Linked DNA regions of Homo sapiens: region 2 is linked to region 1. Evidence: promoter capture Hi-C in 16 types of primary human blood cells and fetal thymus (Javierre and others, 2016). All regions are on one chromosome and are shown on one strand. Each heading gives the region's core, a stretch centred on a gene start or on the middle of the fragment in contact. The rest is flanking DNA. Distances are from core to core; before and after follow the strand shown. Region 1 holds the start of CDK8 (cyclin dependent kinase 8). Region 2 holds the start of LOC107984597 (a long non-coding RNA gene).

Region 1 (7,817 bases), core at 2,794-5,293:
TGCTATGGTCAAAAAGGCCATATATAATCTGGTCCCTGTCTACCTCTCTGTCTTCACCTCACACAATTTCACCTCTTACTCATTATATTCTTGTCATCTTTCTGTTCCTTCATTCCCAGCTTTGCCTTTTGCACTTGCTGTCTGTTTAATCTGCCTGGACTACTCTGCTCCCTCATCCACAGCAGATTTTGTTTCTCAACCTTCAGGTCTCTGCTTAAGCATTGTCTCCTTAGAGAAACCTTGACCGTCTACCAATCTAAAGGAATTTCCTCCTGGTCTCACTTTCTATCACATTGTCCTGTTTTATTTCCTTTATAATACTTAGGGCATTCTTCCTCCTGTGAGCTCCCTACCCCCATCTCCCTCATGCCCCCTAATAAAGGAGCTCTCATATTCTTGCATGGTCCTGTCCCTGTGGCTACACTTAGTTGGCCTAGGACGGGCCTGACTCAGCCATACCAGAGCCCTTCTTGGGATTTTTAGAACCAGAATTGAGAAACAGTCAATTCTTCGCTAATGAAAGCCATTGTCTGACGTAAAATTCAGCAACTATTGGTGGTCATGTTTCCCGTTGTGTGGAGGAAATGAGTCCACAAAGGCAAATGATACCCACATGGTGAAGGGGAGAAGAGTAAGATATTTTTGAAAGTATTTTTTATATTCTGGTTATTTCTAAGGTCTAAATTATATTCTGGATGCTTGCAGAGTTAGTAAGGATACTTTTTGCATCTATAGTTTCTTTGAAAATTTTTTAAAAATCAGGCCAGAAAGACAGAGTGAAAAAAATGAAATATTAAAAAAAAGCTCTTGGATTGATTAATCTAACTTGTTCTTCCTTGTGTCGAACACTGTGCTCACATGTAGATGGTTAATATGTGCGGGATGAACGTGCCACCTGTAGAATGAGAGGTTACATGCTTTCCACTGAAAGCATGCCTTAATACTGAGTGAGAAAGTGGAAGTCAAAGTTGTAGAGACTGCAGTGATTAACTATGAGAAGAGCCACTTGGGCTTTTACATTAATATATCATGAAGCACTCAGTCCTTTTGCAGCTATAAAAAGCCCTTTTTAGAGGCAAGACTGAGGCAAGATACTAAATGTTTTACAATGACTGTCCTCTGACAGGTGGAGACCTTTATTATTATTAATGTCCATTTCAACATTTATTGAAATCAATCCAATGAAACACATTCTAATGAAATATAATTACGCAAACAATATGTGCTTGGAACTGTAGGGGATATATAGATGATTAAGGCAGGAACTCAGTCACTAAATTTATTAAGGGGCAGATTTTTTTAATCGCATAAAATAAATGATTAAAATACAAGGTAGCTATAATGAGTTACAAATAAAGTGCAATGGTGCCAGGGCTGGGGTAGAGGTTCATGATAAAGAAAGGTCATATCTAGTTGCAAGAACTGGGAAAGACTTCATGACCAAATTAAGCACTTGGGGGATGGGTAGGACTGTAAAGGTCAGAGATGGTATGAGGAAGCATCTTAGCCCTTAAGAACCTTAAGAACACACAAAAGGAGACACTTAAAACTAAATATTAGATGCTGCTGTTCCTAGCATTAGCCATGCTCTCCTATAAGGGGCCCTTAGTGGCTATCTCTTTCTCAGCTCCCCATCCTGATACCATTTTACAGGGTCAGCTTACCTCCTACCACCATATTCCTCCAACCTAGTGTCTAGGCCTCTAACTCTCACCCTGGCTTCAAAGAGAAAAGCAGATCTTGCTCTTCCCTAGTCCAAGGTTAGCTTCTTTTCCTGCCCCCAGGAAAAGACTGACAGTCAGGACTGACATTCAGGATACTCAGTTGACAGTGAGGACACTCAATTCCTTCAGGGAGAGTTCACCTTCACCCAGAGTGAAGCCAGCCAAAACAGTGTATAAAAGTACATTTTTAAAAGTCTGAGGCCAGGTATGTGGCTCATGCCTGTAATCCCAGCACTTTGGGAGGTTGAGACAGGAGGATCACTTGAACCCAGGAGTTAAAGACCAGCCTGGGCAACAGAGCGAGACTCCGTCTCTCAAAAAAAAAAAAAAAAAAAAAACTTAGCTGGGTGTAGTGGCACATGCCTGTAGTCCCAGCTACTCAGGAGGCTGGGGAGGAGAATTGTTTGAGCCCAGGAGTTCAAGGTTGTAGTAAGCTGTGATCGCATCACTGCACTCCAGCCTGGGTGACATAGCCAGACCCTGTCTCAAAATAAAAACACAAAAAGACAAACAAAAAAGGTCTGAGACCTTCAGTGTTCCAGAATAGTGTGTATAATTGGTACAGGAGGTGGGGAAGGGGGACCCGATACAGTGTAGGGGCAAGCTGAGTCCCATGCCTCTTCACAACTTTTCCTCCAGTGTGGTAGTTTGATTTCTCAAGATCCATGAGTAAATATGTGCACAAAAGACACATCCCTCAAAAAATACAAAATACATTGTCTAAGGAAGAATCTTTTAAATCCATATTCAGAAAATGATGTAATTCTTTAAGGATGCAAATGAGCAGTTCTGCTAGAGAGTTACCCAATTTTCATCACTGAATGGAAACAAATAATATGCCATTAATGAAAGCCTACATTTGTTTTGTGCTTTGCACTTTGCAAAGAAAAAATTCTAGGCTCCAAGAACACATTAGTAAATGACAATGCAGGATTCAAACCCAGTATAGTAAAATACTCAATACTTATATAGTATGCTAGGTAAAAACAATTTAATTTTACACAGTGGTGAAGTCACTAATTTTCTCCAAGGAAAATTATATAAGAGAAAGCCCTTTGGAGGCTTTTTCACAAGATGATATCATCATCATCATCATTGGTATATGGATCTTTTTGAGATAAACATGTTTATTCATTCATTAATTTAACAAGTGTTTACTGTGCATCATTATCAAGGCATGACACTAGGTTTTACAGAAGATGCAAATATGACTTCCTATAACAACTTAGGATCTAGCAAGGTAGAGGAAATAAAAGATGAAAGGAATTTGATAAATATCACAGGAAAGGTGGGAAAAAAAGTGTTAAAAAGTTCACATTAAAACTGCAAAGTTCATATTCCCTTTGGGAAGTGGGGAGCTTTAGTGGAAATGGTAACAATTGGAAAACCAAAAATTAAAAATAGACAAGGGGGGTAAGATAAAATGATAGATTAGTATCAAGATACCAGGACTCCTGAAGCAGGACATATTGCTACCTTAAGATTATTAACAAACTAGTTCCCATGGATTTAGATCCTTTCTGTAATCATAGCTAGAAACTGGTGTTCTTATAGGTAGTATCGCAGAAGGCTGTACTGTACTCAATACTTCCTGTATATGGATAGGAAAGGTTTGGATGGTCATCTGTCACAAGAGTAACAATGTTTAGGAGTAGCTTGGACACTGGTCATTGATTCACTTTTATTGGTGCTTGTAATGTCAGTATGTTGACATCATTGTGCAGCCCTTATCAGATTGTGAACACCAAGAGTACCCCAACTGCTGGCCCGCGAGCTGTTTACAAATATCATACCGGCTTTTATCGATGATAGTGGCCTTTAAAATCTGGAGTTCAGAGTGGCACAAAATGTGTTTCTAATGCAAACGACTCTCCTTCCCACGTGCACCTCTTTGATCAAGTTTGTGGCTGAAATCAGACTCTAGTTAGATCGCTGTAAAAATAAAAATAAATTTTCCCCAAATGATTGAAACGAATTTCACCCTAGACTACGAGTCCCATCATGCAACGCTCCCATATTCCCACCGTGTGGGGCGGAGTCGTAGAAGGGGCGGCAGCGGCGGCGGCCTGTGCATTCTGGGTATTGTAGTCTGGGGCCCGGCCACCGCTGGGGCTGGTTCCACGTGGTGCATTTGGCGGCAGCTTTGGGCAGTGGCTCCCCTGCTCCCTCCACACGGTCCTCAGGGTGCCAGCGCCAGCAGGGGCGGCCAGCCACCGCGGGAGCGGGCTAGAGTGTGGCCCGGAGGCAGCCCGAGGCTTCGCGACGTTTTTGCGACAGCCGCGGCCGTGTTCCGCGAGTGCCCTCCCTCCTCCTCTCTTTGAGGAGGTACCGGCTGTTGTGCGGCTCTGCCCTTCTGTTTGAGTGTATGGGAGAGTGAGTGAGTGAGTGAGTGTGAGCGTGTGTGTGAGAGCGTGAGGCGTGAGTGCGCGTGTGAGAGGACGAGAGCCCGCCTGGCCGCCCCGCCGCTCCCGCCGCAGCAGGAGCAGAACGCGCGGCCGGAGAGAGCGGCGGAGCCGGCGCCCAGGGAGCCCGCGGGGACAAGGGCAGAGACACCGCTCCCCACCCCCAGCCCTCGTCCCTCGGCTCTCCTTCGCCGGGGGATCCTCCCCGTTCCTCCACCCCCGGCCGGCCTCTGCCCCGCCGTCCCCCTGGATGTCCCTGGCGCTTTCGCGGGGCCTCCTCCTGCTCTTGCCGCATCAGTCGGGCTGGTGCTGCGGCCGGCGGGCGTAGAGCGGGCGGGTTCCCGGGGGCTGCGGCTGCCCGTGCTTCCCCGGTCCCCACCCCTGCCCCCCGGCCCCCCGACCCAGCTCTCCGGCCTCAGAGGCTGTGACAATGGACTATGACTTTAAAGTGAAGCTGAGCAGCGAGCGGGAGCGGGTCGAGGACCTGTTTGAATACGAGGGCTGCAAAGTTGGCCGAGGCACTTATGGTCACGTCTACAAAGCCAAGAGGAAAGATGGGTGAGTGTGTGTGTCTGGGCCGGTGTCCGCGCTGGGCGGCGCTCCCGCAGGCCGAGGCAGGTAGCCCGGAGGGAGAGCGGGCCGCCGGGGTGCCGGGCTCTGACTTCCTCGACGCCGGCCTCTGGCTCCGCCAGCCAGGTTTGGGGAGGAAGTGGTGTACGAGGGATCCAAACCCACGAGAAATCCTGCGTGCCGCGTCTGTGTTCTGCTCTGGTGGTAAGAGGCAAGATGAGCCTCTGCACCGTGGGCTGTATACTTTTCAAGGATTTCAAAGCTGATTCATGAAAAAATTCGTTCTAAAACGCCGGGTTAAATGTTTTTTGTTTTTTTTTTTCCTTGGTCGATTTATTATGGTAACCTTCTGGGGATTTCCTCACCCGCCTCTGGAGTGTCATCCATCGGTCTAGAAGGAAGGCTGTGATCCTTTCCCCCACCAGTTTGTGATCGATTTTTTATCAAATTTGTATTTTATTTGAGGAAAGGAAGGCAGCGAGTGAATGTGGTTCTGGAGAGAGTTCCCCATAGTGATCATCTGCAACATAAATGTTGCAATTGCTATTTAGATATTATTAGCTGTGAATTTTTACATAGAACAATGGGGGTTTGGTGCAGGGTGGGTGGTGGGGAAGAAGGCAAGTGACATAGGGACTATCTCGTTCAGGCGGTTTCCCCCAAATTTAGCGGCTGGCAGTGAACTTTAAATAATCCCTTTGCTTTAAATATTCTTCCCTAGTAACAACTTAATTAAACCTATGACTGGTAATGCTTCCAATTTAGTTTCTTAACAGGCAAGTGAATTGTTCATTTTTTCTCTTTGTCAGTAGATGAATGTCTTGTAATATTGACAAAAGAGAAGGCAATTCTTAGTTGGGGGGAAAATATATTTTATTAACTCCATGTTTTCTTGTAAAATGGATGTTGTCTCTGTTGCCTTTGACAGAATAGAAAATTATTGAAAAGTCAAAGCTTATTATATAATCCTTGGATTTTATTAGAAACGAAGTAGCTTTACTTGAGCATCCCAGTTTAGTCACCTGCTGTATGATGTTTAATCACTTAAAATTTCCAATTAGGTAGGAGAGTATGTTCAGACTACATTAGCACGAAAAAAAAATTCATAAAGCTGAAGTTCCCTACTGTGGGGTAGGGGGGCGCATATTTACAAATACTTTAGTATTCTGGATGTTGGAAAGGAAAGTGTATATTTATTGGACATTTTTCTTAGATTTACTGAAATGTCTTTCTAAAAGTATTTACAATGGACTCTACGAGGAAGATAGGAGTTCTAATTAATTTAGAATGTGTATTTTAGTGCTTTTATGCAACAGTAAAGTGGAACAGATCGGCAGAAGGTAGGGATTTGGATTTGAAAACTTGATATTCTGGGCGCCGCACGTATTTAAAAGTACTTTTTAGCGGAATGGATAGTCTGGTGACACTGGAGAAATCAGCGTCTGGAGATATTGCTGACTCTGTTGTTGTCTAATTAGACTTATTGTTGAAGTTTTACTCTGTAATGACATATATTTTTAAAATTATGTTTGTTAACTCACCATACAATATTTCTCAAAAGCTTTAAACCATCTCCCCTTCCCCCAGTATTATGTAATTTTGGGCATATTCATAAAATCCCCAATCCCATGAGATTAGACATTACAGTACATTTGACCAAACTGACATGTTATATAAAATTCTAGCGCCTTTGCATTATTTTTAATCTGTGTGAGAGAAGCCGGTTCTGTTTTCATAAATTACCAATTTAAGCTAATAAAATATGCATATTTGTTTTAACGTTGTACATTTTATTAGAAAACTAATACTGTGTATTGGCAGGGGGTACTTAAGCACATTTTATATCTCTATGGTCAGGTTTTAATTTAGGCCGTTAAGAATAATTTGAAAGAATAATTTCAATATCTTTGAATTTAAAGATAGTTGAAGGTATAATGTATGGACATTCTTAGTCATCTGTGACAGCTGAAAAGTAACATTGCATTTTGGAAAAAAGAACTTATTATTTGTAATCCTTGGAGTTTGTTTTCCATCAGTCTTTAATGATTCTCTTTATGTGATGAACTTCTATTTTTAATGGATCAAATGTCAAGAGAGTTTTAAAATTACTATCTTTTAGAGATAGTTTTAGAGAGTTTTAAAATTACAGGGATTTTTTTCGGTTTGACTTCTCTTTGTAACCTCACTCTGGTAAAGTATCGCATAGTATTTATGAGGTTCTTTTGATCTTATGTCAGTGAAATGTAATTTAATGCATTTTAGTCCTGGTAAAATAAAATTTGTGGCTGTTTAATCTTTCATAATAAGATGATGATCAAATAATTTGTTTCTAGTATTGATTTACTTTCAAATTACATTATATATTCTGCAGCTGAGATTTGTTCTCTAGGAACTCAGACAGTAACACCTTTAAGGAGAACCTGAGATTTTCTATAAAAGGAAGTAACGCAAATAAGCTTGGTTTAGACATATTTGACTATTGAAATGAATGTATGTAAACGTTGTATCCTTTCAGTTGCCCAGTGAGCATAGAACATGAATAATTGGTAAAATAATTTAGACCAGAGAAGTTAGCTGCTTAAATTATTAAGTTTTAGGAAATAAAATAGCTTCAAAGATTCATTTCTTTGACTTACTTGAGGCATGATTGCATAGTAGGGAAAAGGGACCTTTTATAACTTTGTTAATTTCACATTATAATAGAGTTTAAAGAAATGCACAATAAATCTTGGGATTAATTTGTTCTCACTCGTGTCGCCGTAAATGAGATAGTGTCCTTTGTGTCTGAACACTTAAAGAGTACTCAGTGGGAAGCAGGGGGGTTCATTTTCTTTCTGAGTTGATTGTATCTCCTCTTTGCAGAGTTTAGGCAACCAAACTAATTTTGTTTTAAAGAGTAAGAGAGCGTTAGAAGACAGAAAACAATTTGTGTTTTTAAATTCTAGACTTCAATATTTGCACTGAATGTTTGGATAATTTAAAATATCAATTTGGGATAAGAGGTTTTTCTTCAAAAAAGAAAAACAAAAGGCATTTTCTTAGCAGGGTTTTTAATCTGTTATAATCTATGTTCCAAAGAATAGATAATTATGAGTGAGGAATGAGTGTGTGTTTGTGTGTG
Region 2 (7,420 bases), core at 4,597-7,096, 450 kb after region 1:
CCGGAGGGAAGCTGTGGGCCCTACAGGGTAAGCAGGTCTGAGCCTCAGACTGGTGCATCTCTGCTGGAGCGTGGTGACATCCTCCATCGCATTTCCCGCTTAGATGAAGAAGCAGAAGCTTTGGGCTGAGCAATCTTTTTTTTTTTTTTTGAGACAGGGTCTCATTTGTTGCTCAGGCTGGAGTGCAGTGGTACGATCATAGCTCACTGCAGTCTCGAGCTCCAGCGATCCTCCTGCCTCAAATCTCCGGAGTAGCTGGGACTACAGGTGCACACCACCACACCTGGCTATTTTTTGTAGAGATGGGGTCTTGCTATGTTGTATTCCATGCCCAGCCCTTCTGATGCCAGACCTGAATCCCTGGCTCTGAGCTCCTCCCCAAGGGCCCTTTGCAGGAGGAAGCTGGTCAGCTCGCAGCCATTCAGCTGCTCTGCCTGGAAGCCATGGCCCTGATTGCCACTTGGAGGGTGATGGCTGGAGGCCCAAAAGGACACCCAAAAGCAGATGAGCTTGATAGGAGGAACAAGGAACAATGTGGCCTCTTTCAATGTGAGGCTGCAGGGCTAGCCTCAGAGTGTGGCCTGCCCCCAGATTTGGCCTAGAAGCCAATGGTTAAACTCCCAGAGCTGTAGGTTGCTCCCAGTCCTGACTCCCACCCTCCCCAGCTCCACCCTGGGTCTAGGTTGAAGTAAATGTCTGGGATGGAGTAGGGGACGTCTGCCTGGCTCACTTCATTTTTAAGTTTACCCGTGATGGAATCATCCTGACATCAGAGCTGCGCTGTTGAACTGTCCTGCCTTTTTCCCTGCAAATGTTGAAGGAGGGTGTTTAGGGAGGCAGGAAGCAGGGCTGGCCCCATGGGTGAGGGGTGAGGCGTGAGGGTTCGGGGTTCCTCAAGAGCAGCCCTGCGCTGCACAGGCCTCCTCCAGGAGCATGCACGGGGCACTGGCTCTACACCAGGAGCATGCACGGGGTACTGGCTCTACACCAGGAGCGTGCACGGGGCACTGGTTCTACACCGGGCAGAGGAGTAGGGACAGAGGAGTGGCTGTTTTGGAGAGCGGCTGCTGGAAGGGAGCTGGGGAGTGTCGGGGAACAGGCAGCTGTGTGACCAGGCTAGCTTCGGAGTGGCCTGGGAGCTGAGGATATGGAGGTCAGCCTGCACACCATGTGTACAGAGAGCGGAGTGGGGTTGCCAATGTGGGTGTGGGCTGGGAAATCTTGCTTGACACCCCCCAAACCCTGGGATGCCACACCCCAGCCCCAAGGGCTCCCTGAGCAGGAAGGAGGCAGGCGAGGCTCAGGGTTGTGGCTCAGAGCCCTCCTCAGGAGTGAGCTGCATGAAGGTGGAGTGGGGTGGCGGTGTCCTCTGTGACCACTCTGGAGGAGATGCGGGGGACGCAGCGTCACCGTGTCCCTGGCCTCTACCTGTGTTCCTGCTTCTCCCAGGGCTGGAGTGCAGGCCTAGGTATTTGAACATTTAAAACTAAAACCATTTGGAAATCTGTCTTTGAAAGTGTTGGGGCTCAGAAAATTGTACCCCAAAATGAAAGTCTTGGAAGCAGCCTCAGAAGCAAAAGGTTTTCCCTGACCTCCTCCCGCCCTCCTGTCTCTTAGTCCCATTTTCCCCCAAGGCTACCCATAGAAACCAGAATCCCTCTTCCCCAAGATGGGTCATAGAAACCACACCCTCTTCTCTCCAAAGCCAGCCATAAAACCTGTTACTCTTTTTCTTTCTCAGACTCTCTGTGTAAAAACTGGTCATAAAGAAATGATCTGACCTACCTTGTTTGACTGCTGGTCATAAGACCCCCTCATTCCAGAAGGAAGGAATGTGTGCTCAGAGAGGCCAGGCAGAATCTAGCCGGACAGGCCTTGCTGGGTGTCCTCACTCGGTCTCAGCGTTAGATCACACCCTTCTTGTCTGATCATATTCTACCCGGCCGTCCATACTTTGTTGGACAGAAGCATAAAAGTGGACAAGTTCCCCTGTACGTTCGTTCTTTATGCTGAAGGCTCCTGTGTACATACGTTACATAAACGTGTATGCCTTTTCTCCAATTAATCTGCCTTTTGCCAGCTGATTTTTCAGCCTTGGCCCCCTCGAAGGAGTGGCGTCAGCCCCCGGGCTCCTGAAGAGGACAGGGCGCTTCTGAGCTCTGAGCCTGCGGTTCCTGGCGGGTGGATTTTACACAAATGTCAGAGGCCCCTGCGCTGTAAAAAGCAGGTGAAGTGTAAAGGACGATTCCTGCTTTCCCTTTAAAAGTCTATCAAGGGCGTCCACGTTTGGTTTAATGCCGAGACGGGGATGCAGGGAGGCGCTGGCCTCCGCCTCCTGGAAGCTAGTTAATATCGCTGCAGAGCCAGTAGCTCTTCCTTTCCGAGGGCGCCCTTCTGCGGGTCTGTGGGGAAACACCGCCCTCTGGTGGCCAGATGATGAAGTGCGTTCTCTGAAGACCAGGCTCACAAGTTCGGCTCCCTATTCACTTGCTCAATCCTTCATTCTTTCATTAAACAAATATGTGTTTTTCATGCACTGCTGTTGAGAGTGAACTGGTACGAGTTCTTTGGAGGGCAATTTAGCAACCCTGTATCAAAATTAAAACTGTACATACCCTTGACCGACCAATTTCGTTTCTAGAAACATATCTGAGGCAGGCTGGATTTTCCAAAAATGCTGATGACAGTATTTCTAGACCTATATTCTCTTCCAGAATCTTGCCACTCCCTATCAAGAGGTGTGCCCTGTTTCCTTCTCCTTGAACCTGGTGGGATTTTGGAAGTGCCTGATTTCCAAGGCTACACCCTAAAAGGTAACGAGGCTTCTGCTTGGCTCTCTTGCTCAGAATGCTACCTCTGGAACTCAGCCGCCATGTTGTGAGGAAGCCCAGGCCACATAGAGAGGCCACAGGTGAGGGTCTGCTCCCAGCTGGGGTCTTAGCCACTGCAGGGAGACAGACAGGGCCCAACCTTACTGAGCTCAGCTTGCCAAAATTACAGATTTCTGAGCAAAAATAAATATGGTCTCCATTTTAGATTACTTAGACTTAGGGTAATTCATTATACAGCTTTCATAACTGTAACAGATATACATTTCAGATTTATTTGCACATGAACAAAAAGATATATTCAATTCAGCACTGTTTGAAATAACAACAGATTAGAAAACATCTTACTGTTCTTGCAGCAGAATATTGATTAAATTATAGTCTATGCACATTGGAATACACTGCAGCTGTAAAAAGAATGAGGCCATTTTCATTGAGTTAAAATGATCTTCAAGATAGATTGTTAAAGTAAAAAAAAAGCAAGGAGCAGGAAAATGTGTATATAATACGCTATCTATTAGATTAAAAAAGGAAAAAACAATATATATCTTCATTTACACGTGCATACAATATTTCTAAAATGATCCACAGGACAGTGATAGCATTACCTCGGGGCAGAGCCCCTGAGTATCTTGGGGCAAAGTGGTAGGGAGATCTCTACTGCAGACCTTTTTAGTACTTTTCATCATGTGAGCGTTTACCTATCTAAAAAAAGTCCTAATTATTTTTAAATGTAAAAATCCTCTTTGATATGCTAGGCAGAGTGATGTTGAGATGAAAGACACAGCTGCTGCTCACTGTCATACAATTTGCCTTATTGCTCTACTATCAAGGCAAAACAGTAAAGCAATGGGGGGTTGTATTATTCAGGGTTTGACAGAGAAACAGAATCAGTAGGAGATGTGTATATATGTATTTATTTAAAAAAATGTGTAGTGTTTAATCTGAACAGCCAGTGGCTTAGTCAAGTTAACATATACATGAAGAGACTTATTATGAGGAATTGACTTACACTATTATGGAGGCTGAGAAGTTCCATGACCTGCCATCTGCAAGCTGGAGACTCAGGAGAGTGGGTAGTGCAATTCCAGTCTGTGTCCAAAGGCCTGGGAACCAAGGGGCCTCGAGGTGTAAATCCCAGTTGAAGGGCAGGAGAAGATGAGATGAGATCTGCCCACGCAGGCAGGCAGGAAGCAAAAGGGGCGGATTCTTTCTCCTTTTGTTCTACTCAGGCCCTCAAGGGATTGGCTGAGGCCCCCGTACATTAGGAAGAGAAGTCTGCTCTACTGAGCCCACAGATTCAAATGCTTGTCTCATCTGCAAACACCCAGAAACACTGTTTAATCTGGGCACCCAGTGGCCCAGTCAAGTTGACACATAGAATCCACCACCATGGGGTAGAGAGAAGTCACAGAATCAGACTGCTTGGGTTCAAATCCTGGCTCTGTTCTGTGACCTTGGCCAAGGTACTCAAATGACCAATTCTCTAGTTTTCTCATCTCTGCAGTGGGGGAGTAATAGTGCTTACCTCAAAGGGTTATTCAGATTTTGGTAATTGGCTGTTGAGCTATTCAGATTTTCTAATTCTTATGTCAATTAATCATTTCAAGTTTTTTTTTGAGACAGAGTTTCACTCCTGTTGCCCAGGCTGAAGTGCGGTGGTGTGATCTCAGCTGACTGCAACCGCCGCCTCCCGGGTTCAAGCGATTCTCCTGCCTCAGCCTCCTGAGTAGCTGGAATTACAGGTGCCTGCCACCATGCCCAGCTAATTTTTTGTGTTTTTAGTAGAGACGGGGTTTTCACCATGTCAGCAAGGTCTCGAACTCCTGACCTCAGGTGATCCACCTGCCTGGGCCTCCCAAAGTGCTGGGATTACAGGCGTGAGCCACTGCGCCCGGCCAGCGTTTCAAGTTTTTAAGAGAATGTGTCCATTTCCCCTTCTCTTTTTATTTTATTTTTATTTTTATATATATTTTTAAATTTGAATTGCTTCTCTCTTTTTCTTGATTAGTTTTACTACTGGCTTTTCTATATTCCAACTTTTTTCAAAGAAATGAATATTTGGTTTGATTCATCTTCTCTCTTTTTGTATTATTCTTTCTTTCATTCGTGTCAGCCCTTATCTCGGGTGTTTGCTTGCTTGGGGTTACTCTTCTTCTTTGTGAAGCCTGTTGACTCAGAGCTTACCTCATTTGTTGTTTTTGAATGAATGCATTTAAAATTATAGTTTTACCTCTAAATATAACTTTCTTAGTCCTACAAATGTTGACATGTGGTCATTTTCTTGTCATTCAATGTGAAATATTTAATAATTTTCCTTATTTTTCTTCTTTATTACAAAGATGATGTATGTGTTGTTTTTGATTTTCATCTATATGGGATTATATACATTGATCCTTTTGATATTGATTTTTTTTCTTTTCTTTTGAGACAGTCTCGTTCTGTTGACCAGGCTGGGGTGCAGTGGCGCGATCTTGGCTCACAACAACCTCTGCCTTCCAGGTTCAAGCAATTCTCCTGCCTAAGCCTCCCACTTTTGATACCGATTTTTTAAATTTTATATAAGGCTAGAGAAGATGGGCTGAATGTTGCTGATTCTTTGGTATGCATTGGGCCCTCCTTCATGGGCTTATGTATCGCTCGTGTTCATGACTGTTCTGTGTGCACTTAGAGGCAATGCTCATTTTCTTTAATCTCTAATTAACCAAGATTATTCAAAATATTAATCGAAGCTTCTATGCCTTTGGTTATTACTTGCCTGCTTGATCTGTTAGCTTCAAAGGAATATTTTAAAATATCTAATTTATATTTTTATTTTTAATACTCTTTCCTTTTCTTTCTGATTTTTAAAATTTTGGCCTTAAAACAGTTTTGATACCAAAATTGATATACAGCTTTCTTTTCATTTATATTTGCCTGGGATATGTTTAATAACTTAAAAGAAACTTTCCGTATCCTTTCATTTTAAATAGGTTTCACATACATACACATGTTCGTACATATATACATACATCTATGTAATGAATAGCTTTCTTTTCTAATCTTTATTTAAAATAGCTTCATCAGATTAATAGTTTCTTTCCATTTCTAGTTTAAAATTTTGTTTAAAAAATCACAAGTAGTTGTTGAATTTTACAAATGACTTTCTATATTTATTCAGATGTTCATGTGACTTTTCTCCCTTAACCCGTTAACTACAGATTACATTATTTTGTTACTATTTTGTTTAGAAGTTTTATATTTATTTTCATGAGTGAGATTAGTCTACAATTTTCCTTTTTAAAACTATTTTTATTTCGGGAACAAAGCTTTGTCAGCTTTATAGAATAAGCAAACAAGCATTTTTGCTGTTTTCTATTCTGTAGAAAAGCTTTTATAAGATTGGCACTTTTGGTCTTTAATTTAAGGTTTGGCTGAACTCAAGAGTGAGGCCATCTGAAGCTGGGCTTTTCTTTTGGTTTTTGATGCTGATTCAGTTTTTTTTGTTGTATTTTAGTATTTTGTATTTTAGGGCAATTGTCGCTTTTTATTTCTTCTTGAGTCATTTCTGATGAGTTACCTTTACCTAAAAATTAGACTATTTCTTCTAAATTTCAGGAAAAAGTTATCTGTTATATTCTCTTGTTATCTTTTTAATGCCAGCAACCACTATCGTGATGCTCTGTTGAAAGCAGTTTGTGCTGTCTTTTGCCTCTGAGTCCAGCTCACTGGTGCTATGCCAAATTTATTAGTTCGTTGTTTGTTTGTTTTTGTTTTTAAAGAAAGTAACCTTTAGTGTTGGTCCTCTTTATTATGTTTGTTTTCAATTTTATTTGTTTGTGCTCAGAATTTTGTGATTTCTTTCTTTCTCACTTCTTCAGGTTTATTTTACTATTCTTATTCTAACTTCATGAGATGGACTCTTAGTTCATTATTTTTCAATCTTCTTTTCCATCATACACATTTTATGGCTATAGTTTTACTACATTCTGCTTAATTAAATTCCGTAAGTTGGGATATGGAGTCTTTTAATTAACATTCAGTTCAAGATATTTTCTAATTTGCATGTGTGAGTGATTCAGAAGCAGGTTTCTTAATTTGCAAACAGATGAGGATTTTCTGCTTAGGTTTTTGGATTTTAGTTCTCACTTTATTGCACTGTAGTTTTAGAAGACACTTTGCATGATAGCATACATGCTGTCTATGAAATTTGATGAGATTTACTTTATGATCCAGGACATAGCCAGTTTTAGAAAATAGTGTATTTGAGGTTATTGGATGCAGTGTTTTATATCTGTCCATTGATTTAAGTTTTTTTGTATTGTCAAGTCTTCTATATTCTTACTGAATTTTTTTAAATCACTGAGAGGATGTCTGTTAAAAAAAAAAAAAAGTCCAGGCCAGGTGTGTGGCTCACGCCGATAATCCCAGCACTTTGGGAGACAGAGGCGGGTGGATCACTTGAGGTCAGGAGTTGGAGACCAGCCTGGCCATGATGGCAAAACCCCGTCTCTACTAAAAATACAAACATTAGCTGGGCGTGATGGTACATGCCTGTAATCCCAGCTACTTGGGAGGCTGAGGCAGAAGAATCACTTGAACCCAGGAGGTGG

Evidence for each region. The method cuts DNA at HindIII sites, captures the fragments that hold promoters and counts their contacts. A CHiCAGO score of 5 or more calls a contact.
Region 2: a fragment that was not itself captured here is called in contact with the fragment with the promoter of CDK8 in region 1 in 1 of 17 cell types (monocytes); the score reaches 6.6 in monocytes.

What each region holds. Positions count from the first base shown.
Region 1 is chr13:26,250,086-26,257,902 of GRCh38, forward strand. CDK8 (cyclin dependent kinase 8) reads left to right here and starts at 4,044. Exons shown (of 13, transcript NM_001260.3): 1 at 4,044-4,684. The coding sequence starts at 4,557. RefSeq lists a silencer at 4,049-4,648. The HindIII fragment of the contact is 11,884 bases long and covers 1-5,648 here.
Region 2 is chr13:26,696,451-26,703,870 of GRCh38, forward strand. It overlaps LOC107984597 (a long non-coding RNA gene), which reads right to left and starts at 2,368. Exons shown (of 3, transcript XR_001749798.2): 1 at 1,786-2,368. The HindIII fragment of the contact is 576 bases long and covers 5,559-6,134 here.